Linked DNA regions of Homo sapiens: regions 2, 3, 4 and 5 are each linked to region 1. Evidence: promoter capture Hi-C in 16 types of primary human blood cells and fetal thymus (Javierre and others, 2016). All regions are on one chromosome and are shown on one strand. The core of a region is centred on a gene start or on the middle of the fragment in contact, and the rest is flanking DNA. Distances in the headings are between cores, read along the strand shown.

Evidence for each region. Contacts are between HindIII fragments. The CHiCAGO score rates a contact against its expected background, and 5 or more counts as called.
Region 2: a contact is called between a fragment that was not itself captured here and the fragment with the promoter of JHY in region 1, in 2 of 17 cell types (naive CD4 T cells and total CD4 T cells). The highest score is 5.4, in naive CD4 T cells.
Region 3: a contact is called between a fragment that was not itself captured here and the fragment with the promoter of JHY in region 1, in 4 of 17 cell types (naive CD8 T cells, naive CD4 T cells, total CD8 T cells and 1 more). The highest score is 6.7, in naive CD8 T cells.
Region 4: a contact is called between a fragment that was not itself captured here and the fragment with the promoter of JHY in region 1, in 11 of 17 cell types (naive CD8 T cells, megakaryocytes, activated CD4 T cells and 8 more). The highest score is 10.2, in naive CD8 T cells.
Region 5: a fragment that was not itself captured here is called in contact with the fragment with the promoter of JHY in region 1 in 3 of 17 cell types (naive CD8 T cells, non-activated CD4 T cells and total CD8 T cells); the score reaches 6.2 in naive CD8 T cells.

Annotation. Positions count from the first base shown.
Region 1 is chr11:122,880,691-122,886,067 of GRCh38, reverse strand. It overlaps JHY (junctional cadherin complex regulator), which reads right to left and starts at 3,309. Exons shown (of 9, transcript NM_024806.4): 1 at 3,096-3,309; 2 at 1-307. The coding sequence starts at 218. RefSeq lists a silencer at 2,831-3,190. The HindIII fragment of the contact is 12,251 bases long and covers 2,230-5,377 here.
Region 2 is chr11:123,251,978-123,257,354 of GRCh38, reverse strand. No RefSeq gene overlaps it. Among named protein-coding and RNA genes, the nearest start is that of CLMP, 59 kb to the right of the region's middle. The HindIII fragment of the contact is 5,741 bases long and covers 1-5,282 here.
Region 3 is chr11:123,235,871-123,241,247 of GRCh38, reverse strand. No RefSeq gene overlaps it. Among named protein-coding and RNA genes, the nearest start is that of CLMP, 43 kb to the right of the region's middle. The HindIII fragment of the contact is 612 bases long and covers 3,025-3,636 here.
Region 4 is chr11:122,588,258-122,593,634 of GRCh38, reverse strand. No RefSeq gene overlaps it. Among named protein-coding and RNA genes, the nearest start is that of TRK-TTT2-1, 31 kb to the right of the region's middle. The HindIII fragment of the contact is 8,114 bases long and covers 1-5,377 here.
Region 5 is chr11:122,605,341-122,610,717 of GRCh38, reverse strand. No RefSeq gene overlaps it. Among named protein-coding and RNA genes, the nearest start is that of UBASH3B, 48 kb to the left of the region's middle. The HindIII fragment of the contact is 1,411 bases long and covers 2,344-3,754 here.

The DNA.
Region 1 (5,377 bases), core at 2,060-4,559:
CTGTCGGGCTCCATACCGTTGCCCCGGATTCGATCATCAAACTCAGAATGGCACATAATCTCTTGCGTGAGGCTTTCTGAATCAGATTCCAAGGAGTCTTTTGAAATCCGATGTAAGTCTTCTTTCTTCAAAGGTGGGTGTGTGGACTGGACATTTAAGTTGGTATGAAGGACAGGAGATTGAATAGAGAGCTTGGGAATTAGTTTACGTTTACTCATCTTGAAAAATGCAAAAAATTAACAGGGGATACTCGTGTTGATAGGAGCAGCTGGCTGATATTTAAAGTTGTGGTTCACAAAAGCGTTACCTGAAAAAAAATATATTTATGTTACTCTGCGACCACTAAAATCTCAATACTGTCAACGTTAATCAAATATTTAAATGAGTAAGAGAACCTTGTTATATTATCTGCAGGCTTTTGTATGCACCCTTTTGTGTGTATAAGAAAGGTCTATTAGAAAAACAATTGTTTTTCTCTCTGCAGAAACACATCTGATGTAGCGCTCATAAGCAGCCTGAGTAATCGAATGCAGTTTTATTGATGAAATAAATGGCTGCTTGGAAGTGGATTCCTATTTCTAGCTTCCAAGGGCTTGTTACAGACAAGCCTGGACTAAGACAAATGGTTAATTATGGACAGTACTTTGATAGCCTTATTTCAAATGCCCAAATAACTATGGGCAATATAAATATGGTCCGTAGTTATTCATGGATAGAGTAAAACAGGTTCAGGGGCTATGTTTTGGAAAGTAAAGTAAGAAGAAAGAAGAGTGTAGTTTTCCATAGTTGGAACTGTAAATGGGGAAGCTGTTTTGTTCCTAGACCTATATGGGCTGGCAACATCATTTGGAAAAGACTTTCTGATAGCCAGGTTGTGACTAGATAGGAACATATAATTTAGGTGGACATAAATGGAGATCAACCTCATCCGGTATTTTTTAAAACCCATAATAACGATTAAAACTGTTCAACAATCACGCCTGTAATACCAGCACTTTGGGAGGCCAAGGTGGGCAGATCGCTTAAGTCCAGGAGTTCAAGACCACCCCGGGCAACATGGCAAAACCCCATCTCTACAAAAAAAAAAAAAAAATACAAAAAATTAGTGGGCATGGTGGGATGGGCCTGTAGTCCCAGCTACTCGGGAGACTGCGGTGGGAGGAGGGTCACTCGAGCCGGGCAGGCAGAGGCTGCAGTGAGCTGGAGTGCCACTGCACTCCAGCCTGGGTAACAGAACGTGACCCTATCAGAAAAAATAAATAAAACTGTTCAACAAAAGATTTAGTGGTCTTGTGAATTCTGCCACTGAGCGATCCAAAGCAGAGCCTGGAGGTCTACATTACCGAACGGGATGCTATCCTGGGGAAAGTTGAGTGGGTGGGAGATTGGCCTGAATTACAGCTAAGAGTTAGCTGGAGTCCCTTCCAACTCACTTACGAGTGTGATTCAAGTGAACCTGCACTGTCTGTAAGGGTCATTATAAAGAGCCATGGAAAGGGTGCTTTGAGTTCATGTAGGACCGAACGGACATGATGTTTTTGGATTGTGCTTCCTTTCATCTCTACCTAGCATTTCTATTTTGGTCTATTTTCTATCTCACTGCCTTTATACCCATTTTTTTTTTTTCTGTGAGTCAGGTAACAGAAACCTTTACCATTAGAAATTGCTGTAAAATTTGTCTTAATGGCTTGCTCTTGTTCTTTTGGCAAATCCTAACTTTAATTAAATGACACAACCTTATTACTATTCCTAGGATTGCTTATAATGTTGACCTTGTTGCTAATGTTTGCAAGGAGCATCATCAAATCCTTGGAGGAAAGCACCTTAACAAACAACAGGCAAAAGGGAACGTTCATATGTAAATACACACGAAGTGAGTTTTCTATTGAACTCGAAGTCTGCCCTGTTGGTAGACTAACATATTATTCTCTAATATTACAGACTGGTTTGTTGTATTATTTTGTCTCTTATTTTTAAAATACATATTGCATTCTGCCTTATTATTTTAATTGTTGCTTTTTTAGGATGTGCCAAGAAAGCAGCAAATCTATCAAATACTAACACATTTTAAGTAAAAGAGATTGTTTAACACCGGTTTTACTGGAGGAGCTAAGGTCACTGAATTTGAGATCCTGAAGAGCAAGCTTAAGCGTTATAGTGCAACTTAGAATTACTCTTAAAATAATTCAGTCCCTTGAACTTCTCTTCTTAAATGAAATAGGCTAAGCTTTCTTGGAATGAATAAAAAATAAAACAGTAACCACAGAAGATAATTTTGCTGATGTTAGCAGATTCCTGAAGTTTGCTAAAGTATGCAAAGAGCAAAGCCAAACGCCACAAAAGCTGGGTTTTCTGTGGAGGCCTGATCTTACCAAAACATGGGGTGGAAGAAGGAACAGCTGACAGCTTGAATAAGTTAGAAAGTGGGCGTTTAAATTTCATGAATGTGGCTCCCTCCTCCCGTCCAGTGAAAAAAAAAAAAGGTTGTGCCGCTGAAATTTCTGACCAAGAGAGGTGACTAGTCTCCTGAATAAACAAGACAGCGATAGATCCGATGGCACCTAGGGACTAAGAAGCGGCCAGCTCCCCAGGGATCCCTGCAGTGGGTCTAGTCCACTAGCATGGGACAATCGAACTTTCTCCTGGAGGGGAAAAGGAACCCTGCTTGGGCTCACCAAGATGAATCGTAAAGAAAAAGGAACGAACCCTGGTTTGAAACAGGCCGGAAGCTGCCCAGGGGAGGCGTTCGGTTTTCTACCTTTGCTTGTTCCTGAGGAACAAGGCCTGTCACAAGGGGCGTTTGGAGGTCCAGGAAGTGACAAGTCGGCGGGCCTGGTGCCCGGGACCGGTCCTAATTGACCGGGAACAGGGCTGCTCTGGGTGCCCGGGCGCCGAAGCCTCGCATGGCGGCCCCCCAGCCCCTTGTCGCGGCCTCGCCCCCTTGTCGCTCCCCACTCCGTCCCGAAGGCTCCCGCGCCGGCTCCTCCCCAGCTTGCTTGGGTGGTTTCCTGCCGTCCCCATCCCCAGTAAGCCCTTCCCGTTTCCCTCCCCGGGCGCGCCGCCCACCCCAGATCCGGGAGGCCACCGCCCGTCACCTGCCCGGCGCTCCTCCGCGGCCGCGACCCGGACGGGCCCCGCATCCTCCCGCGCCGCCGCCGCCGCCGCCCGGGCCCCCGCCCGCCCCGGCGCTGCCCTGGAGACCGCAGACAACACAGACGCCGGCGCCACATGGGCGGGGCAGGACCCGACCTAGGATCCCGCGTCCCGAACCGCACCCCCGGCCCTGGCACGGAGGCTGCAAACGGCCGTAATAACGACATCGGGGCAGAGCCGGAGGAGCCCGAACGCCCCGGGAGAGGCTGCCTCGCCGCCCGGACTTCCCAGCGCCGGAGGGCAGAGGCCACCCGGGGGAGGAGATCTTTGCCACAAATAAAACTACTAAAATACGCGAGGAACTGCTACAAATCAAGAAGAAAAGGAACCCAATTAAATAATGGGTAAATGGAAAGGTATTTCACAAACACACGAGAAATCTAAATGGCCAATAAATATCTGTTTATTGAAATGATGCTTTAATTCATTAATAATCAGAAGAAGGCCAATTAAAACCACAGCGGATAATACCACACTCACCATAAGTTGAGTCGAAAAGTCCAAAGTTGAAACGTCTGGCAGCGTCAGGTGCTAGGGAGGACGTAGTGCAAAGAACCGTCACCTTCTGCGGGCGGACGTGAGAACCGATGCAACCAACCATTTTGGAAAATGGTTTGACATTAGCCAGGATATGTATGCCTTGGGATCCAGCAATTTCACTTTTAGGTATTTACCCTAAGAAGTGCGTGCTCCTGTGCATGCAAACTGGAAATAACTGAACTATCCATCAAAAGAATGGTTAATTAGATTATGCTATTGCCTATACTGGCATACTACATAGCACTGTAAATGAATGAAATACAACTATGTGTAACAATATGGAGGCATACTAAAAACACAATTTTGAACAACAACAAAAACCCAGAAAAAGTACATACTGTATGATTTTTGTATATAAAAAACAGGCTAAATTACACTCTACAGTGATTGTGGCTCCATACTTAGTGGAGGAAACTATGAAAAAAAGCAAAAAAGCAATTTTATGGGAAACACTACCCACTTAGTGATTCCCATCAAGTTAGGATTGTGGTCGGTTCTGGCAGGTAGGGAGAAGAATGTTTTTGAGACTGTATTTCCTGACCTTAATGATGGTTATATAGATGTTCATCTTGTAAAAATTCATTAAGCTGTACATTTATGTATGGGTAGAATATTTCACTATCAAAAAAGGTTTCAAAAAAGAATAAAGAAAGGAAGCATTAGGAATTATCTTCACATTAAAACAACAAGTAGATTTGAATAACTACCTTCAAAGATTGGTTTGAGGCCAGGTGCAGTGGCTCACCCTGTAATCCCAGCATTTTGGGAAACCGAGCTGGAGGATTGCTTGAGCCCAAGAGTTCAAGACCAGCCTGGGGAAAATGGCAAAACCTTGTCTCTACGAAAATTTTTAACAATTAGTTGAGCGTAGTGGCGCGTGCCTATAGTCCGAGCTACTTGGAAGGCTGAGGTGGGAGGATCACCTGAGCCCAGGAGGTTGAGGCTGAAGTCAGCCAATATTGTGCCACTGCACTCCAGCCTGGGTGAGAGTGAGACCTTGTCAAAAAAAAAAAAAAAAAAAAAAGAGAATTCTTCGGCCAGGCACAGTGGCTCATGCCTGTAATCCCAGCACTTTCGGAGGCCTAGGCGAGTGGATCACCTGAGGTCAGGAGTTCAAGACCAGCCTGGCCAACATGGCAAAACCCCGTCTCTACTAAAAATACAAAAATCAGCTGGGCGTGGTGGTGCACGCCTGTAGTCCCAGCTACATGGGAGGCTGAGGCAGGAGAACTGCTTGAACCGGGGAGGCAGAGGTTGCAGTGAGCTGAGATGTGCCACTGCAATCCAGCCTGGGTGACAGAGCGAGACTCCATCTCAAAAAAATAAAATAAAATAAAAAAAGAATGCTTCAATACCAGTTGCCTCATTAATGATAGGAAACACAGGAAATTGGAAAATGTCTTTACTACCCAGCTTTAGCACTTTTTATTCTGTTTTTTATTTGAGTTAGTTTTTTTTTTTTTTTTTTTTTTTTTACTTTTTTGGCAGCAGGGACCTTGTCTTATGAGTACACAGTAGGACCTCAATGTCTGTAGAAGAAATAAAAGCAACGTAGCTGAAACCATTAGTGTTATTCTGCCCAGTATATTATACAAGGTATTATTATAGCAACTGCAAACATGCAAGCAAATTTCAAGCAAAAGGATTTAGTCCTAATAGTGGCTTCCAGAATATGTTATAGAAT
Region 2 (5,377 bases), core at 1,163-3,662, 370 kb before region 1:
TGCCCAGGCTGGAGTGCAGTGGCACGATCTCGGCTCACCGCAAGCTCCACCTTGGTCAAGCGATTCTCCTGCCTCAGCCTCCCCAGTAGCTGGGATTACAGGCATGTGCCACCACACCTGGCTAATTTTGTATTTTTAGTAGAGATGGGGTTTCTCCATGTTGGTCAGGCTGGTCTCGAACCCCTGACCTCAGATGATCCACCCACCTCGGCCTCCCAAAGTATTGGGATTGCAGGCGTGAGCCACCGTGCCCAGCCAATGGTTAATGTTTCTTTCCAGCACCTCTGGGCAGGCCAGCTCACAGGGATGAATTTAACCCTGCTATGGATTTGGATGGATAGGCCTCGTGATCGGACTAGAGATTTTTCAACATTATGAGACTCTGATGAATAAAATCCTTTCCCCCTTCATTTCAGTTTGATTCCTCTCATGAGCCAGGATGGGGACTAGGAGGGTGACTCTCTTCAGTTCAACATGAAAAAGCAGAGTTGAAAGGGGTGCTTTGTGCCCAGGTTTTGCACTGAGACCTCAGCCTGTGCAAAGTGGAAATCCTCTTCCATCCCCCTGAGCCTGCTTCTCTCCTGTGGGAATGCGGATCAGTTCCCAATCTTGGTGGGAACTTCACGGAGGCCACGATGCATGCCGCTGTCCTAATGAGAAATCTGGGCACTCTCGCCTTACCCCATACTTCCAATCCATTAACAAGTTCAGAAGCTCCTTCTACCTCGTAAAGATATTTCTCACATCCAATTTCTGCTCTCCTGCCCTTAGTTTTTTTGTTTTGTTTTGTTTTGTTTTTTTGAGACAGAGTCTGGCTCTCTGTTGCCCAGGCTGGAGTGCAGTGGCACGATCTCAGCTCACTGCAACCTCTGCCTCCCGGCTAGCTGGGATGACGAGCATGCACCACCATGCCCTGCTCATTTGTGTGCGTGTGTATCTTTAGTAGAGACGGGGTTTTGTCATGTTGGCCAGGCTGGTCTCGAACTCTTGACCTGAAGTGATCCCTTTTATCATTTTGTACTCTCCAAAGGCACTCCCACCCCCAGTCTTTCTATCCTCTCACTCAAATCCACTAGATAATGCATCTTCTGAGAAGATGTCTCAGGCCTAAGTTCCTCTGAGACCTCATTTTGATTCCCTACCTACTTGCTCAGATAATCACTGCAATTGCGCAGATGTTAGGTGAAACCCTTCAATTAACTGCCTTTCATTCCAAGAGTCAGGACATTTCAAATGGGTGGAGCAAGAGTTCCTGCAGTTGTCATGGCAACGACAGCCAGCCGGAGGCCCCGCGTTCTCCTCTGCCAACCCCCACACACAACGTTCACACCCTTCACCCAATAGGTCCTAATCCGTGATGGTTTCTTTGACAGTTTTCAGCCAAAAGTCCGGTGGTAGTGACAGACTTGGAAGTGAATAATACCAGGATAAAGAGCAGAGGTTATATAACTCTGGGTAAAACAGGCCCCTCTCATTAGTACAAAGTTTGAGACTCAAGCAAGAATTCACTGCTTTACTGAGAGTTATCTGGCAAAGAGACAGGGACATTGGTGGTTTTTGCTCTCCTTAACCCCTTTAAGCTAAACTCACTGATGCCCCATCTCCCACCAGCTGTTTTCTCCACCTTCCATTTCCCTGAATAAATCTGTGTCTAGCTGGAGGTTTACCCACAGACTCAGGCCTGCCTGGGCCAGGACAAGGGTCAAAGTCAAAGTGCAGGAGAGGCCAGGTGCAGTGGCTCACACCTGTAATCCCAGCACTTTGGGAGGCCGAGGCGGGCAGATCACTTGAGGTCAGGTGTTCGAGACCAGCCTGGCCAACATGGTGAAACCCCGTCTCTTCTAAAAATACAAAAATTAGCTGGGCATAGTGGCAGGCTTCTGTAATCCTACCTACTTGGGGGGCTGAGGCAGAAGAATTGCTTGAACCTGGGAGGCAGAGGTTGCAGTGAGCCAAGATCGTACCACTGCATTCTAGCTTGGGTGACAGAGTGAGCCTTCGTCTCAAAAAAAAAAAAAAAACCATCCTAGCTAACACAGTGAAACCCCGTCTCTACTAAAAATACAAAAAAATTAGCCGGGCATGGTGGTGGGCGCCTGTAGTCCCAGCTACTCGGGCGGCTGAGGCAGGAGAATGGCGTGAACCCAGGAGGCAGAGCTTGCAGTGAGCCAAGATTGTGCCACTGCACTCCAGCCTGGGTGACAGAGCAAGACTCCGTCTCAAAAAAAAAAAAAAGTATTGTTTAGAGGAAAAGACAGATATGAAAAGAGGTTGAGGATCTAGCTGGAAGGGGCAGGAACCATCAGAGTGAAGTTTCCACATTTGGGACCATCACTACTTGATACTTTTCCTATATGCAGACTTGTTTAATCTTCATAACAACGTAGTCAAATAGTTATATCTCCATTTAACAGAAGAAATAACCGAGGAAGAGAGGTTAAATCACTTGCCAAGCCACATAGCTATTAAGTGGCAGACCTGGGTCTCAAACAAGAGTCTTCATTTCCAAATCCTTGGGTTGCCTTCATCAACCACACCATTCTGCCTGCAACACATTCATAGGCACCCACTCAGCTTAACTCCATCTGTCCAGAAATCTGTGCCCATGCCCTTGGTCTGCATTTCCACCCTCATGTTCCCAGACACACCTCACCAATGATCATCATTTTCCCTTGCCACACATAGGCAATGCAGATTTGTTAGGCAGAAACAGACCAAAGCCAGCCCAGCATGGTGGCTCATACCTGTAATCCCAGTGCCTTGAGAGGCCGAAGTGGGACGGTTGCTTGAGGCCAAAAGTTTGAGACCAGCCTGGGCAACACAGCAAGACCCCATCTCAACAGAAAAATTTAAAACTTAGCCAGGTGTGGTGGTGCATTCCTATAGACCCAGCTACTCCTGAGTCTGGGATGGGAAAATTGAGCCTGGAAGTTCCAGGTTACAGTGAGCTACGATCATGCTACTGCACTCCAGCCTGGACAACAGAGTGAGACCCTGTCTCTAAAAATAAATAAATAAGTAGATGTTGATATTTTCAAATCTAAAAAATAAAATAAAGAAAGAGACCAAAGCGTTCTCCAAGGGTTTTGTTTTGTTTTATGTTTTTAACCACCAAAGTCTAGAATGAAGAAAAGACACCCACAATAAGCATGATATTATAAACAATTTGGCCAACGAATAAACCAGCCTCCTTCTGACGGGTGAGCCCTCTGCTCAGAAGGAAAGCTGGCTTACCATCTGTCCTGTGCTTGTGAAACCTGAGCTGCTTGCCATGACCCAAATAGAAGCCTCTGGAAACCCTGTAGTTCTTTCTGCCCACAAGAAATGAAGTCAGAAAAGAGATTGCAACTGGGGGGAGAGAGAAGGAGAGACAGAGGAAGACAGAGAGAAAAAAAGGAGGAAAGAAGAAATAAGGAAGAAAGGGAGGGAGGGAGGGAGAAAGGGAGTGTCTTAGTCCATTCATACTGCTATCACAAAATATCAGACACTGAGCGGCTTATACACAACAGGTATTTATTTCTCACAGTCCTGGAGTCTGGGAAGTCCAAGAGCAAGGCAAGGTGCTGGCAATTCAATTCCTAGAGAGAGAGCTCTCTTCCTGACTTGCAGACAGCAGCCTTCTTGCTGTGTCCTTACATGGCGGAGAGAAAGAGAGCTCTGGTCTCCTCCTTCCTTTTATAAAAACATGAATTCCATCATGGGGCTCCACCCTCATGACTGCCTCTAAACCTCCTGAAGGTCCTTCTTCCAAATACCAACACGTTAGAGGTTGGGGCTTTCAACATATGAATTCTAGGGGATGCGGGGCACAGATATCCAGTTCATAACAAGGAGGTGGGGAACAGGGAGGGAAGGAAGGAGGGCGGTGGTATTATGTTAAAACCCAAAGTAAGAATCTGAGTACTTACCTTCTACTGTTCAGTACCATCAACTTCCGCTAGAGGTTTGTAAGGAGAAGGTAATGGCACAGTGTCAGATGAATATTCAAATTAACTGTTTAGGGACAATGGGATTCGATGCCCTTCTCAAAGAATTCACTGACAGTACCACTCGGCAAACTATCTCTGCCTTGATTTTTTTTTTACTTTTAAGAAAGCACATGGGCCGGGCACAGTGGCTCACGCCTATAATCCCAGCACTTTGGGAGGCCAAGGCAGGTGGATCACCTAAGGTCAGGAGTTCGAGACCAGCCTGGGCAACATGGTGAAACCCCATCTCTACTAAAAATACAAAATTAGCTGGGCGTGGTGGTGCATGCCCGTAATCTCAGCTTCTTGGGAGGCTGAGGCAGGAGAACCCCTTAGAACCTGGGAGGCAGAAGTTGCAGTGAGCTGAGATCATGCCACTGCACTCCAGCCTGGGTGACAGAGTGAGACACTGTCTCAAAAAAAAAAAAAAAAAAAGAAAAGAAAAAAAGAAGAAAGCACATGTTCTACTGCACCGTCCCTATCTTCAGTCTTTTAAAATATTCCCAGAAAATCTATGTCGTTTAAACAACTGAATATTTGTGGTGTCCCTAGATAGCCTTATTTCAAGACAAACCAAAAACTAAGTGTTGCTTTCCCATGGGGGCAAAAGCAGGAGAGGGGCCATCTGTCCACTCAAGTAAGTTTCCACTGTGGGCACCACCTGTCCTGGGAACCAGAGGGGAGCCCGGGGAAAGAGCAGGCTCAGGTCCAGCCCTCCAGGAGCTTCCAGGACCCGCAGTTGTGGCTCAGGCAGTCAAGTGGGTAGAGGTGCCCTTTGCTGAGACAGGGTTAACAGAGGAGTGAGCAAGTCTTGGGGGTGGGGGTAAATAATGAGTTCCATTTTAGCCAAGTTGAGCTTAGGTGATCACTGACTGGAATGGAGTAGGTGGGCACATAAGTAGATCTGGAGCTCCAGAGAGAAATTTGGGTGGAGATGAAAACTGAAGGCACAGGAATGAATCATCTGTGGAATGAAAAAAGAAGGCAGCCAGGGCCACAGTTTATCTTTGTTTGAATGAATGATTGAATATATATATATATGGAAATGTTATGAGTTAAAGCTACAAAAATAAGGGAGCTTGGCTTCAGATTGCAAAAGTCTAGGTGACAATGTGGCAGGGTTCCAGGCTCCTCTCCCACTCTGGGTATTTTCTGAACAATCTCTAGCTTGTTCATGTCCTGCCAAATATACTTCTCAGGAGTGAATGCAATTGTCTGCTTGCACTATAAACATCCCGGGGTGGAAGACAACCCTCTCCTCCCTCATTTTAGATGCTATACTCCTATTAATGCAGCTCAAACTCATATTAAGCTTTCTAACTGTGGCATCACACTAATGATGTACTTCGTCTACTATCTGCCTGCCTTTGTTTTCCGTGGCTGCTGTAACAGAGTACCACAAACTGGGC
Region 3 (5,377 bases), core at 2,081-4,580, 360 kb before region 1:
ATGCAGACAGACGCTCAACAAACAAACAAAGTCTTTTGGAGACGATACAGGGAAAGAGTCAAGGTTTGGAGGCTTGCACTATCTTTAATGATGATAAAGAATACGAGGATAAAGACTAAAAAGAGATCTGTGGCTGTAATCAATGGTAAATGGAGATCTGGGCAAGAGCAATGTGGCCAAAAGATTGGCCTAGTCCTTTCAGGAAAGTGCCATGATAAATGACTGCCTCTCGGAGGATCAATCTTACCTGCCTACAAATGCATATTTAACACCTACTCTGTACAGGTCGCCAGGAGGCTACAAAGCCACATTAACTCAGAGCCTGCTTGAAAAGGATCTACAACTTAATCGGCCAGGAGGACAAATGCCTACAGAACAAAAACACTGAGTGTAGGTACTAGCTGCCAAATAAAGCACACTGAGGGGAGATGCTGGATGTGCTCAGGAGAGGGGAGACTCTTATAAGAGCCACGTCAGGAAGATTTCATAGGGAAGATGGAATTAGAATTGCACCTTGAAGTAAGGGCAGGACTTAGGGAATGGGTAATGGAAAGAAAACTCCAAGCAAATGAGCTTTGAGCACTGGGGGAAACCCAAATTGCTTGGGAAGACCACGTAAACATACAGAGGCACCATCCCATGTTAGGCTGCTTTTATTATGACCCAGGGTAATATCTATCTGATTATATTCCCTGTTATCACTTTGCACTGATACAAAATAAAAAAAAAATAGCCAAACTAAACAAGTTTGTGAGCTCCCTGTTTGTGACAACTGACAGGTAGGAATCAAGTGATACGTTTCCAGCTTGGTGCTAGGGATTGTGGAGAAAACAATATAAACACAAGACATGGCCTTTTACTCAAAAATCTAAATCCTTATTTTGAAAGCAAAACTAACTCACATGGAAATGTTCAAATATACTTTCAAAGCCAGTATAACCAATGCTAAATTATACTCTTCTGATTGTGTAATACAAAAGTATTTTAGAGACTAAAAAATATTAGTATGGACACAGGTATTTGGCAGCAATAACACTACAGTAAATTCCCTAAGATGGGCCATCAAAATGCAAATCCACTTTAGGCTGAATTTTTCCAAATTTCTACTTGTGCAATCCAGCTTACACCAGACACCTAGAATCTCCTGCAAATGTTTCAGAAGTATTCAATTCTAACCTGAAACCTCTAAGAAAGAGAACAATTTCAAGGCCAAGCAAGAGTCATCTGACTTGGCAACTTGGAACCTGGAAGAAGCTGGTGATGCCATCCTCCTGCCAGATTCCATTTCTGCTGAGACCTGCTAAGTGAGAGACACCCGGTCAATTTGCAGGATATTAAAAGCGGTAGACACAGTCACACTGTGAGGGGCACTGCGACTCCCAGAATTGAGTCAGTGTATTATTCATGAGCCATCTTCTAATTTTTTCTGGTTATAAAACCCACAAAAACCAGTCTGCGGCAGAAGCAGCTATTTTATGCTGCCATTTAAAAATCTGTCTGAAATCGTACATGTGTCTTATTTTAAAAGTTCCCAAAATGTTACAGCAACACACCGAATTCAGCTCTTGAGCTTGCTAAAATCTCCTTCCTACACAGTTCTCCTCATTGTCTCCGTGATCTATAGGAATTCAACAGCCCAGGCAACGTCTCCCTGATGAGTCAGGCCTGGAAGGAAAGGATGCATAGGACTCCTCTCCCTGGGAGCATGGTGACTCCCTGGCTGTGTCACCTCTACAGAAGGAAACATTCATCTCTTCTAATGACTGAATGGAAGGCAAAACCAGCCATAGATGAAAATGAATTCAAACGCTGAGGAGTCAATTGCCGGGTGACATGTGCGGTTCTCTTACTGTGTGAGGAGAAGCAAGGAGTGCTGTGTCTAGCGAGTGAGGGCTCTACAGATACTTGTTAAATGCATGAATTAGTGAATGAAGTCACAGGTCTCTACAAACCAGGTGCCAAATTGAAATGGAGAAAGAGGCGTTCATAATAACAGACGCTACCATGACTGAGGATTCCTATGTGCCAATCACTCCCCTGCGCCTCTGGAGTATGGACTATTATTCTCCCCATTGTACAGAGGAAGAGAGAAATCATTTATTCACTTGCTTGGCTTGACCTAGTAAGAGGCAAAAGTTGGATCTGAATGGAGGCATTCTCACTCTAGAACCCAAGCTCCTTATGCTCTACAGCCAGATTTACAAAACATTAAGGACATATATTCACTCATTCATGCATCCTGCCCTCAGGATGGCTTGGAGTCGAGTGGGGGCAGGCCAATGGTTGTGCCCATGATTGTGGCACAATGTGAGGAGTGCTATGAGAGACGTCAGCCTGGCAGTCAGTAGGAGGACAGAGGAGGTTAGACCAAGCTTCCTGGAGGAGTAGTGGTCTAGTGAATTTTGAAGCATAAATGTAAGTTAGGATTGGAGAAGAAGGGTGTGGTAGATTTTCTGCAAACATTTCCACAATTCTTCACTCCTTCCCGTATCCTTGCCCATTGCAATTGACTTTGCAGCTCTTCTCATGAAAAGATACAGTCAGTTCCTCCAGGCCTTGAATCTTGCAACTTCCTTTGACCAGTAGAGTACAGTGGAAGTGATAACATGCCAGTTCCAAGCCCAGGCCTCCAGAGGCCTCTCATGTTTCTACTTTCTTTCTCTTGAACTTTGCCACAGACATGTGAAAAACCTGGGTGAGCCTGTTGGGTGATGACAGACCATGTGATCCAGTTACCCTTGCCATGTCAGCCAACAGCCCACCCACCGCTGAGTGAAGTCATATTACAGCAGCCAGCTCCCAGGCCAAACCACCATATGACTGCAGAGACCTAAGTGAGCTCCATCAGAGTTAGCCAAGCCTGGCCCAGTTTAGCAGAACTGCCCAACTGACTCTGGACTCATGAGCAAAAGTTTATTGTTGTATGTTGCCTAGGTTCTGTGGTTGGTGGTTATATAGCAGTATTATCATAATAGAGTTTGGCAGATCCTCTTTTATAAGGCTAAAAGCAGTGTGGTACAAGCTTCACTATAATCCTACTATACTTCACTTGCTTTAGAAAAGAATTGGGCCAGATGCAGTAGTTCATGTCTGTGATCCCAGCACTGTGGGAGGCCAAGGAGGGAGGATTGTCTGTGGCCAGGAGTTCAAGACCAGCCTGGGAAACATAGCAAGACCTTGTCTCTACAAATTTTAAAAAAAGAAAATTGAATTGGTCCAGAACAGAGTTTCTCAAACATGGCACTATTGACATTTTGGGCCAGATTATTATTGTTGAGGGAGGCTGTTCTTTGCAAGGTAAGATGTTTAGCAGCATCCATGACCCCTACTCACTAGATACACCAGTAGGTGCCAATAGCACCCCTAATTGTAACACCAAAAAAGTCTCCAGACATTGCCAGGTGTCCTCTAGGGAGCCAGATTGCCCTCAGTTGGTCCAGAAACCAATGCAAAGACGTTAGTTAACAAATACCCAAAGCCCAGCAATCTTTCCTACAAGATAGTTCCATTGGTGGACCAAGCTCAGGCCCTGTGCAAGTACAATGCCTTTTGTGGGAACGTGAAGTTGGATTGGCCAGAGCCAGGTGGGGTTCACCAGGGAGGCTTCTCTGAGTCATTCTAGCTCATGCTAAAGCTTGCTGTGAGTGTGGCAGGTGCTGACTGAGCACACTGTGTGCTGTGTCCATACAACAAAGTTCAAATGAAAAGAGTAAAGTAAAATGCAGAACCTGGCTGAGTGCAGTGGCTCATGCCTGTAATCCCAGCACTTTGGGAGGCCAAGGCGGGCAGATCACCTGAGGTCAGGAGTTCGAGACCAGCCTGCCCAACATGGCGAAACCCCATCTCTACTAAAAATACAAAAAATTAGCTGGGCGTGGTGGCGAGCACCGGTAATCCCAGCTACTTGAGAGGCTGAGGCAGGAGAATCACTTGAACCCAGGAGGCGGAGGTTGTGTGAGCTGAGATTGCACCATTGCACTCCAGCCTGGAGTGCAACAAGAGCGAAACTCCATCTCAAAAAAAAAAAAAAAAAAAAGAAAGAAAAAGGAAAAGAAAAGAAATGCAGAAATGATGCAGATCTTTTCAGGTGGCAGAAGTTACAGGCCACCAAGCAGATCAAACCACTTGTTTCAAGGGTTTCTCCCAGTTTCCGTCTGACTTAACTCTTTTTCCCACTTCACTGCTTTCCATATCAAGACTCTTGTGAAAAAGAGCAATTTCGTCATCACTTTCCCATACACACCTGAATATTCTACATGAGGATTCCAATTGCAACTCTTCTATTTTATGAGAGTTTCTTTTGGAACTAAGAAAGATGGTTAATATTTCTTCTATTGCAAAACTGAAGTTTAAATCAACATCTCTAATCATACTTGCACATCCCAGGAGCTAATTCCACCTCATGAGAGAATGTCGGATCTGGGTCTTAGAATAAGTTGCCTTTTCTTGTTTGTTTAAGATAGGATCTCACTCTGTAGCCCAAGCTGGAGCACAGTGGTGCAAACATGGCTCACTGTAGCCTCGACCTTCTGGGCTCAAGCAATCCTCCAGCCTCAGCCTCTGGAACAACTGGGATTACAGGGATGCACCATCACACCTGGCTAATTTTTATTTATTTATTTATTTATTTATTTATTTATTTATTTATTTATTTATTGAGACAGAGTTTCATTCTTATTGCCCAGGCTGGAGTAAAATGGCGCAATCTCGGCTCACTGCAACCTCTGCCTCCTGGGTTCAAGCAATTCTCCAGCCTCAGCCTCCTAAGTAGCTGGGATTATAGGCATGCGCCACCATGTGCAGCTGATTTTGTATTTTTAGTAGAGATGGGATTTCTTCATGTTGGTCAGGCTGGTCTCGAACTCCTGACCTCAGGTGATCTGCCCGCCTCAGCCTCCCGGTATGCTGGGATTACAGGCGTGAGCCATCGCACCCAGCCTACTTTTTTATTTTTTATAAAGACAGTCTTGCCATGTTGCCCAGGCTGGTCTTGAACTCCTGGGTTCAAGCAATCCTCCTGCTTCAACCTCCCGAAGTGCTGGGATTACAGGCATGGTCCACTGCGCCCTGCCCATTTGTTTTTTCTTAACACTAGACGGCATCATCAGCCCATTCACTGGTTCCGGCAGATGGAAAGCAGTGAAAGAAAGTTCAGCATTTGCTGACTTCTAACTCACCCACTGACCCACACGTTTTATTGATAAGCATATTTGAGACGTGTCCTTTGGGACTTTAAGCAAATTGCTTAACATCTCCAGGCTTTCGTTTTCTTCTGAGTAAAAACAAAACTTACTTTTCCTGCTGTACAGAAAAAACTGATGGGTTAAACCACAAATATGTGTTTCACAAATTCATAGAAACTAAAGAGAACATCCAT
Region 4 (5,377 bases), core at 2,009-4,508, 290 kb after region 1:
ATACCCCCTGAGGTTGTGAAGTGAGATTTTCAGAATGTTTGAATTTTGGCAGAGAAAGAACAACTTCCCAGCTGAGTAATTCCTGAGAGATTTTCATCCTATGACAATAAACCCTTTACCCCACAATTGCTTCTTATGTCTCACTCTCAAATATCTATTCCTCTGCCACAGCTGTGCTTAGACATTTTAATTTCTGCCTCCTTACTGCTTTATAATTTAACTATTTCACAAGCACATACATCTAAGTGCACGTGAACCTTGAATTGTCCTTCTGGGAGAAAGGGTGGATTTCTCCTGCTCCTTCCATTACCCTCTACTGCAGACCATATTATTTGCCTACACAACATCCATTTACATTTTCTTATCTGCTGATAAATCCCATTTTTGTTCACAACGGAAATGCATCCAGCCCCAGATGAGATACTCACTTTTGCAACCTCAAGATGCTGAGAAGTGCAATAAGACAGGAAGACAAATGGAAGTCACCTAGGTAAAGTGGTTTATGAATACTGTTACAGGATAACTGTATGGGGAAAATGTTTTGGGCATGGATGGTATTTCAGAAAGATCCATGATTCAGACACCCAGGGGTAGGAGAAACAAGTGCAGAAAGAGACCATGTTAACCTGGCCAAAGTGGGGAACCTGGAGGACAGAAGAATGAAGACCACGTTAGGGCTGTCAGGAGGGTTGCAAAGCCCAGTGCCATCAATATCTAGGCAAATGGGTGTCTGTAGGAATCTGGGCAGTCATTCACACTCCGAACGAGTCAGCGTAATCTCAAACAGTGGGGATCTGACCTCCCCAAGCGTTTTACTAGGCTCCCAGCCCAACAGATAACCCAATCACCTGTCCTGTTTCACATGAACCCTTTAAAACATTTAATTACTTTTTATTTTTAGCAAAGTAATACATATCCATAGTTTAAAAAAATCGAATGATTCTAAAAATATTGTGTCAAAAAGACCAGTCCCCACATGAAAAAGAAAATAAAGACCAACTCCCATTTCCATCCTTCCTTCCCCAAGAGTCCTGCCTATGCCAGGGAAGAAGCTCATTGAACTCTTTCAACTGCTTTTCTATTATTTACATCCGTATTTCTTTTCTTTTCTTTTTTTTTTTTTTTGAGATGGAGTCTTGCTCTGTCGCCAGGCTGGAGTGCAGTGGCGGGATCTCGGCTCACTGCAACCTCCGCCTCCCAGGTTCAAGCGATTCTCCTGCCTCCATCTCCCAAGTAGCTAGGATTACAGGTGCCCACTGCCACACCCAGCTAATTATTATATTTTCAGTAGAGACAGGGTTTCACCATGTTGGCCAGGATGGTCTCAAACTCCTGGCCTCAAGTGATCCACCTGCCTCGGCCTCCCAAAGTGCTGGAATTACAGGCATGAGCTACTGCACCTGGCTGTCTATTACTTGATATACCACTTTTACATAGGATCCATTGAGTTCCATAAATGTTTGATGAAGTCCTCTGTCAAACCTCTAGGTCTGGAGTTCATACTTAAAAAATAAACTTTGACTCCTTCAGTGGTAATTGATCTGTTCAATGACCCATTTGTTATTAAGCTAATTTAGGTAATTAATCTTTTCACAGGAAGTCAACCATTTCATACAGTTTCCCAAAATTGTACGCATAGTCTTGAGCAAAGTAGTTCTATGATACCTTTAATTTCTTCTGTAAGGGTGAAGATTTTTCTCCAGTGATATGTCTAATTTTGTATATTTGTTGCTCACTTAATAAACAAATCAAGTTAGCTAAATGTTTTTGGTGGTGATGTTTTTCAAAGAACCAGGTCTTAGGTTTATTTATCAATTCTATAATTTTTCCCCATTTTATAATTTATTAATTCTTGTTTTCATTTTTTATAAATAATATCTTCTTCTGCTCCTATGTGACATTTTCATTATTGTTATTTTAAAGTGTTTTGTAATTTAGTTATAGTTTCTTCTTTGACCCAAGAGTTAAGAGGATAGGATTTTTTTTCCCTCCTTAGTGTTTTCTGTGATTTATTTTCCCATTTCTTTTTTTCCTTATTTTGTAGTGTATCTTTAATAGAGCATCTATTGGTTTCTTTTTCTTTCTTCTTTTTACTTACCAGTCATCTTTGAATGAGATAAAGTATTCTGATACCAACTATATGAAAGATGAAGTGTGCCCTGTTTCAGGCAGGTTTTCCTTAGAACCCCATGTTGTATTCGAGTGGGTTCTTTCAATGTTAAGTTTCCATAATCAACAGATTAGCAGCTGCAAGCCTGTTTACTGAGTCTCTTCCCTCTATTTTATACAAGTATTTTCAGGTTTTCTTTTTTCTTTTTTGAGACGGAGTTTCGCTCTTGTTGCCCAGGCAGGAGTGCAATGGCTCCATCTCGGCTCACTGCAACCTCCGCCTCCTGGGTTCAATCAATTCTCCTACCTCAGCCTCCCGAGTAGCTGGGATTACAAGCATGCTCAGCTAATTTTTTGTATTTTTAGTAGAGACAGGGTTTCACCATGTTGGCCAGGCTGGTCTCGAACTCCTGACCTCAGTGATGTGCCTGCCTCGGCCTCCCAAAGTGCTGGGATTACAGGAGTGAGCCACCATGCCCGGCCTTCAGGTTTTCTTTTATTAAAAATACTTCACATTCTCTAGTTACCTTTGGATAATTTCCAAGAAGAAAAGAGGGAAATGCATCTTTACTCTAGACCATGTTATAACCAGAAGTCCTGATTTCCTTTATCATTAAAAACAAAAACAAAAACAAAAACAAAAAAACTGGCCAGTGCTTTAGTAATTCTATTGAATTCGTAGCTGTTTACTATGTTCTGAGCACCAGGCCTAGGACTGAGAGCAAGTCAAGAAAGATTAAAACAAAGTATTTTTTATTTTATTTATTTGAGATGGAGTTTCGCTCTTGTTGAGTGGGCTGGAGCGCAACGGCGTGATCTCGGCTCACCGCAACCTCTGCCTCCCGTGTTCAAGCAATTCTCCTGCCTCAGCATCCTGAGTAACTGGGATTACAGGCATGCACCACCATGCCCAGCTAATTTTGTATTTTTAGTAGAGACGGGGTTTCTCTATGTTGGTCAGGCTAGTCTCGAACTCCTGACTGCAGGTGATCCACTCGCCTTGGCTTCCCAAAGTACTGGGATTACAGGCTTGAGCCACCGTGCCCAACCTTTTTTCTTTTCTTTTTTTTTTTGAGATGGAGTCTTGCCAGGCTGGAGTGCAGTGGTGTGATCTCAGCTCGCTGCAACCTCCGCCACCTAGGTTCAAGTGATTCTCCTGCCTCAGCCTCCCGAGTGGCTGGGATTACAGGCGCGTGCCACCATGCCTAGCTAATTTTTGTATGTGTAGTAGAGATGGCGTTTCACCATGTTGGCCAGGATGGGCTCGATTTCTTGACTTCATGATCCGCCCGCCTCAGCCTCCCAAAGTGCTGGGATTGCAGGCGTGAGCCACGATGCCTGGCCAGTATCTTTTATTTTAAGAAGACACTAAAAGTCTAGAGGAGAAGATGGACAGATATTGTAATGTTGGCACAAGTCAACGCTGTGGAAGATCAGAAGAGGGAGAGATTGGCTCTGGTGAGGAGTTCAGAGAAGACATCTCAGAAGGGATATTTGAGCCTGGCCTCCAAGGATCAGCACAATATTTATAAGAATAGGTAGGAAAATGAAGGGAGCAGTGGAAGGCAGTAATTTGCATCCTGAATGCATATCAATATCACTTGGTGCTTAGATAACAGCCAGGGGTGCTAGTTCTGGGTAAGATGGGGTAAACATTTTTTACCCTTCCTCCCATACTGAACATGTCTAAAACCTTGGACATGATGCATGGAATGGCTGTTTAAGGACTCTGAAAACTAAGTAGTGATGGGTGAATTGGGGATGAAGACTAGAATTCGAAGCACCATTGAACCTGCAGTGAATTTGCTATTTTTTTTCTTCCAGTATTCTCTGTCCTGAACACAACATAGCCTCAAGCCCAAAAGTGAGCACGGGACTGCAGAAAGAATTTCAGGAGAAGCATCCTAGTTCTGGTTTGAGGAGCAGGCAACTTAACCAGAGAATGAAGAAATTCCCCCCTGCTTTTTTCTCATCCCTGTTCTCTCAAATTCTAGCACTCAAGTAATCCTGTTTTGGTAATAGCAGCAGCAACAGGAGTCTGTAGAGCCAAAACACTGAGCAAGCAGGACTTTCTTTGGCTGGTGGAGTTGTGGTTCCATGAGGGTGAGGCAAACCCCCATTGCCTTTTTTTCCTCTCTGTTTTCTACTGTTTGCCCAAGATGTAAGCACAGTCACAGAAATATGCAGCTGAGTTAGGTAATTAAACAGCTTGCTTGCTTTCTCTCTCCTTTCTTTCCTTCTTTCTTTCTTTCTTTCTTTCTTTCTTTCTTTCATTTTCTTTTCTTTCTTCTTTTTCTTTTTTTTGGAGTCTCACTCTGTCACCCAGGCTGGAGTGCAGTGGCATGATCTCGGCTCACTGCAACATCCGCCTTACGGGTTCAAGCAATTCTTCTGCCTCAGCCTCCCAAGTAGCTTGGATTACAGGCACCCACCACCATGCCCGGCTAATTTTTTGTATTTTTAGTAGAGATGGGGTTTCACCATGTTGGCCAGGCTGGTCTTGAACTCTTGACCTCAAGTGATCCACCTGCCTCAGTCTCCCAAAATGCTGGGATTACAGGCGTGAGCCACGGCGTCCAGCCTAAACTGCTGGCTTTCTGATCGGTGACTGAGAGCCCAAGAAAACCAGAAAGGACTGGAGAAATCATGGAAAGAGAAAACTTCAGAAGATGACCCCACAAAGTTATTTATGAAGTCCAGGGCTCATTTCCTAGGTGCACATGCATGTTTTTGATCCTAATTAGCACACCAAAGATTTTGAGAATTGAACTAACAGATAAGCCATTGCCCAGGTCTCAGTCACAAAGCAGCCCAAATTATACTAAAGGCTTTGAAAACAGAAACGACATAGGAACCGTAGCCCACAAAGGGCAGATTGGAACTTGTGACCTGAGCCCAACTGGTTTGATTGCCTACAAAAACAAAGATGTCAACTTTCTCCACTTTATTTAAGCAAGACTCAGAGCCTGATAACATAATATCCAAAATGTCGAGGATATAATTTAAAAGTACCTGCTGTGTGAAGAACCAGGAAAATCTCAATGCACAAGGAAAAGACAACAGATGTCAATGCTGAGATGCTGAGAACACAGATGTTGGCATTATCTGACAAAGACTTTAGAGCAGCTTTTACAAAATTGCTTTGACAGCAATCATGGACACTCTTGAAATGAATGAGAAAATAAAAACCCTCTGAAAAGAAATAGAAGACATAACAGGTGCCAAATAGAAATTTTAGAACTGAAAAATATAATAAATGAATTTTAAA
Region 5 (5,377 bases), core at 1,800-4,299, 280 kb after region 1:
GGTAGATCTTCCAAATTATGAAATCTTCATTTATACTCCAAGTACCTTTTTTTTTTTTTTTTTTTTTTTTTGAGATGGAGTCTCACTCTGTTCCCCAGCCTGGAGTGCAGTGACTTGATCTCAGCTCACTGCAACCTCCACCTCCCAGGTTCAAGCAATTATCCTGCCTCAGCCTCCCGAGTAGCTGGGACTACAGGTGTGCACCACCACATCTGGCTAATTTTTTTTTTTTTTTTTTTTTTGGTAGAGACAGGGTTTCGACGTGTTGGCCAGTCTAGTCTTGAACTCCCGATCTCAGATGATCTGCCCACCTCGGCCTCCCAAAGTGCTGGGATTATAGGCGTGAACCACTGCACCTGGCCCCATGTAGCATTTAAAGTTTTCTCTAAGCAGTGTTGGGAGATAATTCTCCAGGGGGCCCTCCTGTTTCTGCATGTCTTGTGTTTTTCTGCCTTTGTTCTAGACTATCTTTTCAAGGACGTAGTGTAGCAAACAGACTTAAAAGATAGAGTTAGCATCTCTCTTAGTGGCAGAGGGCAGGCATGTTTAAGGTCTAGTATAAAATATTCAGATTCCCTGAACTCAGGCCTCTCGTCCTGTAGTGCAGACCACTGCAGGTGCAGGTGTCACCTGGCCCTCTTTTGCCCTGCCTTGCAGAAACTAGAGCTTAGGAAATTGTCACAAGAAAATGCTAATAGTCTGACTACTGTTATTACTGTAACAAAATCCTTTGTTTCTGATGAAGGAGTCTTATGTCTCTGCCAACATCCATGAAACTGTGGCAGACTAAATTTTTAGCTTGCAAGTAGGGAAAGATGATTTTTACTTAGTAGGAAGAAAATATGTTGTTTAGTAGGAAAAAATATGTTGTTGTTGTTTCCATATAATGGAACTATTCTTATTATTTTAAAAGTCTATTTTTAAACTTGAGATGGAGTTTTGCTTTGGTTGCCCAGGCTGGAGTGCAATGGTGCGATCTCAGCTTACTGCAACCTTCGCCTCCCAGGTTCAAGCGATTCTCCTGTCTCAGCCTCCCGAGTAGCTGAGATTACAGGTGCATGCCACCACGCCCGGCTAATTTTCGTATTTTTAGTAGAGACAGGATTTCATCATATTGGTCAGGCTGGTCTCAAACTCCTGACCTCAGGTGATCTGCCCACCTCGGCCTCCCAAAGTGCTGGGATTACAGGCGTGAGCCACTGCGCCTGGCCTGACATTTATTATTATTAAAAGTCTATTTTTTGTTACATAGTCACCTTACTAAATTCTCTTATTACTTCCAATAGTTTTATAGTTAGTTGTCTGTACATAATCATATTAGCTGCAATAAATAACTTGGCTTCTTTCTTTCCAGTATATCTCTTTCTTTTTTCTGTCTTGACCAGTACTTCCAGATATATGCTAAATAGAAGTAACGATAATTAAAAAACTTGTCTAGTTTCTGACTTTAATTGAATTGTTTATCACACTTCACCATTTATCCTGACACTAGGCTTTGGCTTAAGAATTTATATAGCTACAAAAATATGTATAGATAGGCACGGCTGTATGTGCTTGTATTAAGGGAGAATTATTTAAAAATCAAGGAGGAAGGTTTAATTTTTTTTTTTTTTTTTTTAGACAGAGTCTCACTCCATCATCCAGGCTAGAGTGCAGTGGCACCGTCTAGGCTTACTGCAAACTCCGCCTTCCCGGTTCAGGCGAGTCTGGTGCCTCAGCCTCCTGAGTAGCTGGAATTACAGGTGTGTGCCACCATACCCAGCTAATTTTTGTATTTAGTAGAGATGGGGTTTCACCATGTTGGCCAGGCTGGTCTCAAACTCTTGACCTCAAGTGATCTGCCTGTCTTGGCCTCCCAAGTGCTGGGATTACAGGCATGAGCCACCATGCCCAGCTGATGTTTAATTTTATCAAATGATTTTATAGCATCTCTGGATATACAATTTTATTTATGTTTTTACTTTGATCAATTAATAGGCTAAGTTAGTAAATTATGTAAATAGATTCCTTAATATTTAGCTGTTCTTTCCAGGTTCAAATCTATTTTGTTCTGGTATATTATTTTTTAATAAGTTTCTGAATTATATTTATTAATACTTTTTATTTATTATTCTGCACTCATATTCATAAATTATTCCATAAAGTGTGATGTTATTGTGATATATTTATTAAATGTGGTATCAATAAATAATGAATCTATGGAAAGAATTTGGAAACTTTCTTTTTTAATGTTCTGGAATAGTTTACTGATATTGGAAGTTTCTGTTTTTCAAACATTTGTAGTTGTTTGCTTCTAGTGCTTTTCATTAATTTATTTATTTGAATTTTTAAAAATTGTAAGCTTATGAGGTGTATATACATATTTTTTTGTTTTGTTTTGTTTTTGAGACAGAGTCTTGCTCTGTTGCCTAGGCTAGAGTGCAATGGCATGATCTCAGCTCACTGTAACCTCTGCCTCCCGGGTTCAAGCAATTCTCCTGCCTCAGCCTCCCCCAGTAGCTGGGACTATGGGTGTGCACCACCACGCTTGGCTAATTTTTGTATTTTTAGTAGAGACAGAGTTTCGCCATGTTGACAAGTCTGGTCTTGAACTCCTGACCTCAGGTGATCTCCCCACCTTGGCCTCCCAAAGTGTTGGGATTACAGGCATGAGCCACCATGCCTGGCAGAGGTATATGTATTTTTGAGGTACAGGGTGATGTTATGATTTGTAAATACAATGTGGGATCATTCAATCAAGCTAACATATCCATCACCTCAAATTCTTACCATTTTTTTGTGGTGAGAATATTTGAAATTTACTCTTTCGGCAATTTTGAAGTGTGCAATACACTATTATTAACTGTATTCATCATGCTATGCAATGGATCTAAAAAAAAAACCCTTATTCTTCCTGAGATTTTGTACCCTTTGACCATCAACTCCCCATTCCTCACGTACCCCAGCCTCTATAACCACCATTCTACTCTCTGCTTCTTTGAGTTTGATTGTTTTAGGTTCCATATATAAGTGAGAACACGTGGTATTATTTTTCTGTGCCTGGCTCACTTCACATAGCATAAGGTGCTCTAATTCTATCCATGTTGTCTCAAATAACAGGATTCCCTTCTTTTAAAGTCCAAATAGTATTCCATTGTGTATATGTCCACATTTTCTTTATCCATTTATCTATTGATGGGACACTAAGTTTGATCCCATAACTTGGCTATTGGGAATAGTGCTGCAATGAACATGTTTTGTTTTTGTTTCTCTTTGTGTGTGTGTGTGTGTGTGTGTGTGTGGTTTTTTTTTTTAGCTAGAGTCTCTAGAGTCTCTGTCACCCAGGCTGGAGTGCAGTGGCGCAATCTTGCCTCACTGCAACCTCCACCTCTTGGCCTCAAGCCATCCTTCCACCTCAGCCTCCCGAGTAGCTGGGACTACAGGCATATGCCACTATGCCAGGCTCATTTTTGTGTTTTTTTGTAGAGAGAGGGTTTTTCTATGTTCCCCAGGCTGGTCTCAAACTCCTAGGCTCAAGCAATCCACCTACCTGGGCCTCCTGAAGTGTTAGAATTACAGGTGTGAGCCATCACGCCCAGCAATGCAATGACTATGGGAGTGCAGGCAAACTGATTTCAAATCTTTTGGGTAAATACCCAGAAGTGGGATTGCTGGATCATTTGGTAACTCTGTGTTTTTTGAGGAATCTGCATATAGTTTAATGGCTATCCTAATTTACATTCCCACTCATCTACTGCTTTTTAAATGGGAAGCTTTGATAAAATTTTAAATATTTTCTATTGTCTTTTAACTTCTTTTAAGCCACTTATACCTTGTTTCATTTTCATTAGTGCTTGGCTATATGTTAACTTGTACATAGTTAAAATGTTTCATACAGGCTGGGCACAGTGGCTCATGCCTATAATTCCAGCACTGTTACACCTGATGGGTTCTTTTTTGCCCACTGCCCACAAAAATCAATGCACTGAGAACAGCAGATATTGTGGCAAAGAAAGAGTTTCATAACTGCAGGGCCAGCCAAGCCAAAGGATAGGAGGTATTTCCCAAATCTGCCTCTCCGAGATTTTGGAGGCTAGAGTTTTTCAGGGTACTTTGATAAGCAGGGAGCTCAGGAACTGAAACAATTGATTGTCTGGAGATGAAATCACAAGGGTGTCTACACTGTCTTTGTGTAGTTGACTCAGTTCCTGGGATGGGGTCTCAGGATCAGTAGCATCTCTTGGTCTGTTGAAATGTTAAATCTGAAAAATATCTCAAAGACCAGTTCTTTATTTCACAATAGTGATGTTATCTATAGGAGTAGTTGGGGAAATTATAAATTTTGTGACCACCCCCCGCCAGTTATGTGACTCCAGAGCAGCAAACAACGTACGGAAAAGCAAGCTACGAAATGATAGGTCATTGTTTAACTAAGCCTATTCTTTACCAAAGTTCAAGCCCCTACCATAATTCTTATTTATTTATTTTTTATTTTTTGAGACACGATAGGTCGTTGTTTAACTATACTTATTCTTTACCAAAGTTCAAGCCCTACCATAATTCTTCTTATTTATTTATTTTTTATTTTTTGAGACAGAGTCTCACTCTGTTGCCCAGGCTGGAGTGCAGTGGCGCAATCTTGGCTCACTGCAGTCTCCACCTCCCAGGTTCAAGCGGTTCTCCTGCCTCAGGCTCCCGAGTAGCCGGGAGCTAATCTAGTAGACTAGGGCACAGAGACTCAGGAAAAAAAGTTCCCATGGCTCATTAGCCATATCGAAACTCACAAAGTCAGAAGATCACAGGAGTTGTAAAGGATCATAGAGGTCATGAAGGACAACCTCTATGACATTTCTGATGGATGCTCATGTGACTATTTAAATACTTACAGCAATGAAGAACTCATTGCCCTATAAGTTAATTTATAAACATTAGGAACAGATAATTCTTTAGGTTGAGCCAAAAACCACATCTTGGAAATTTCCACCTATTGGCCTGCAAACAAATCCACTTCTACATGATGTCAAGTATGTGCCTTGAGTTTTCATTGTTTCAGGCCAAACACTTCCAATTTCTTTGGCAGCGCTGAGTGGTGATTCAGAACAGAGTCTCTGCAGTTATGCTCAAGGGCAATGATTTACGTAGCCAAGTGGTGGGCAGTCTTTTTCTGTAAATGTCCAGATAGTATAAAGTACTTGAGGCTTTGTGGGCCTTACAGTCTCTGCTGCAACCACTCAATTCTGCAATTGTTGCATGAAAGGAACCACAGACAGCATTTAAATATATAGGTGTATTGCAATAAAACTTTATTTACAACAACAGGGTAGGCTTGGATTTGGGCGGTAGTTTGACGATCTCGGATTTAGCCAGTTCTCACGTGGTTTCTAGGCTTTCATCAGTT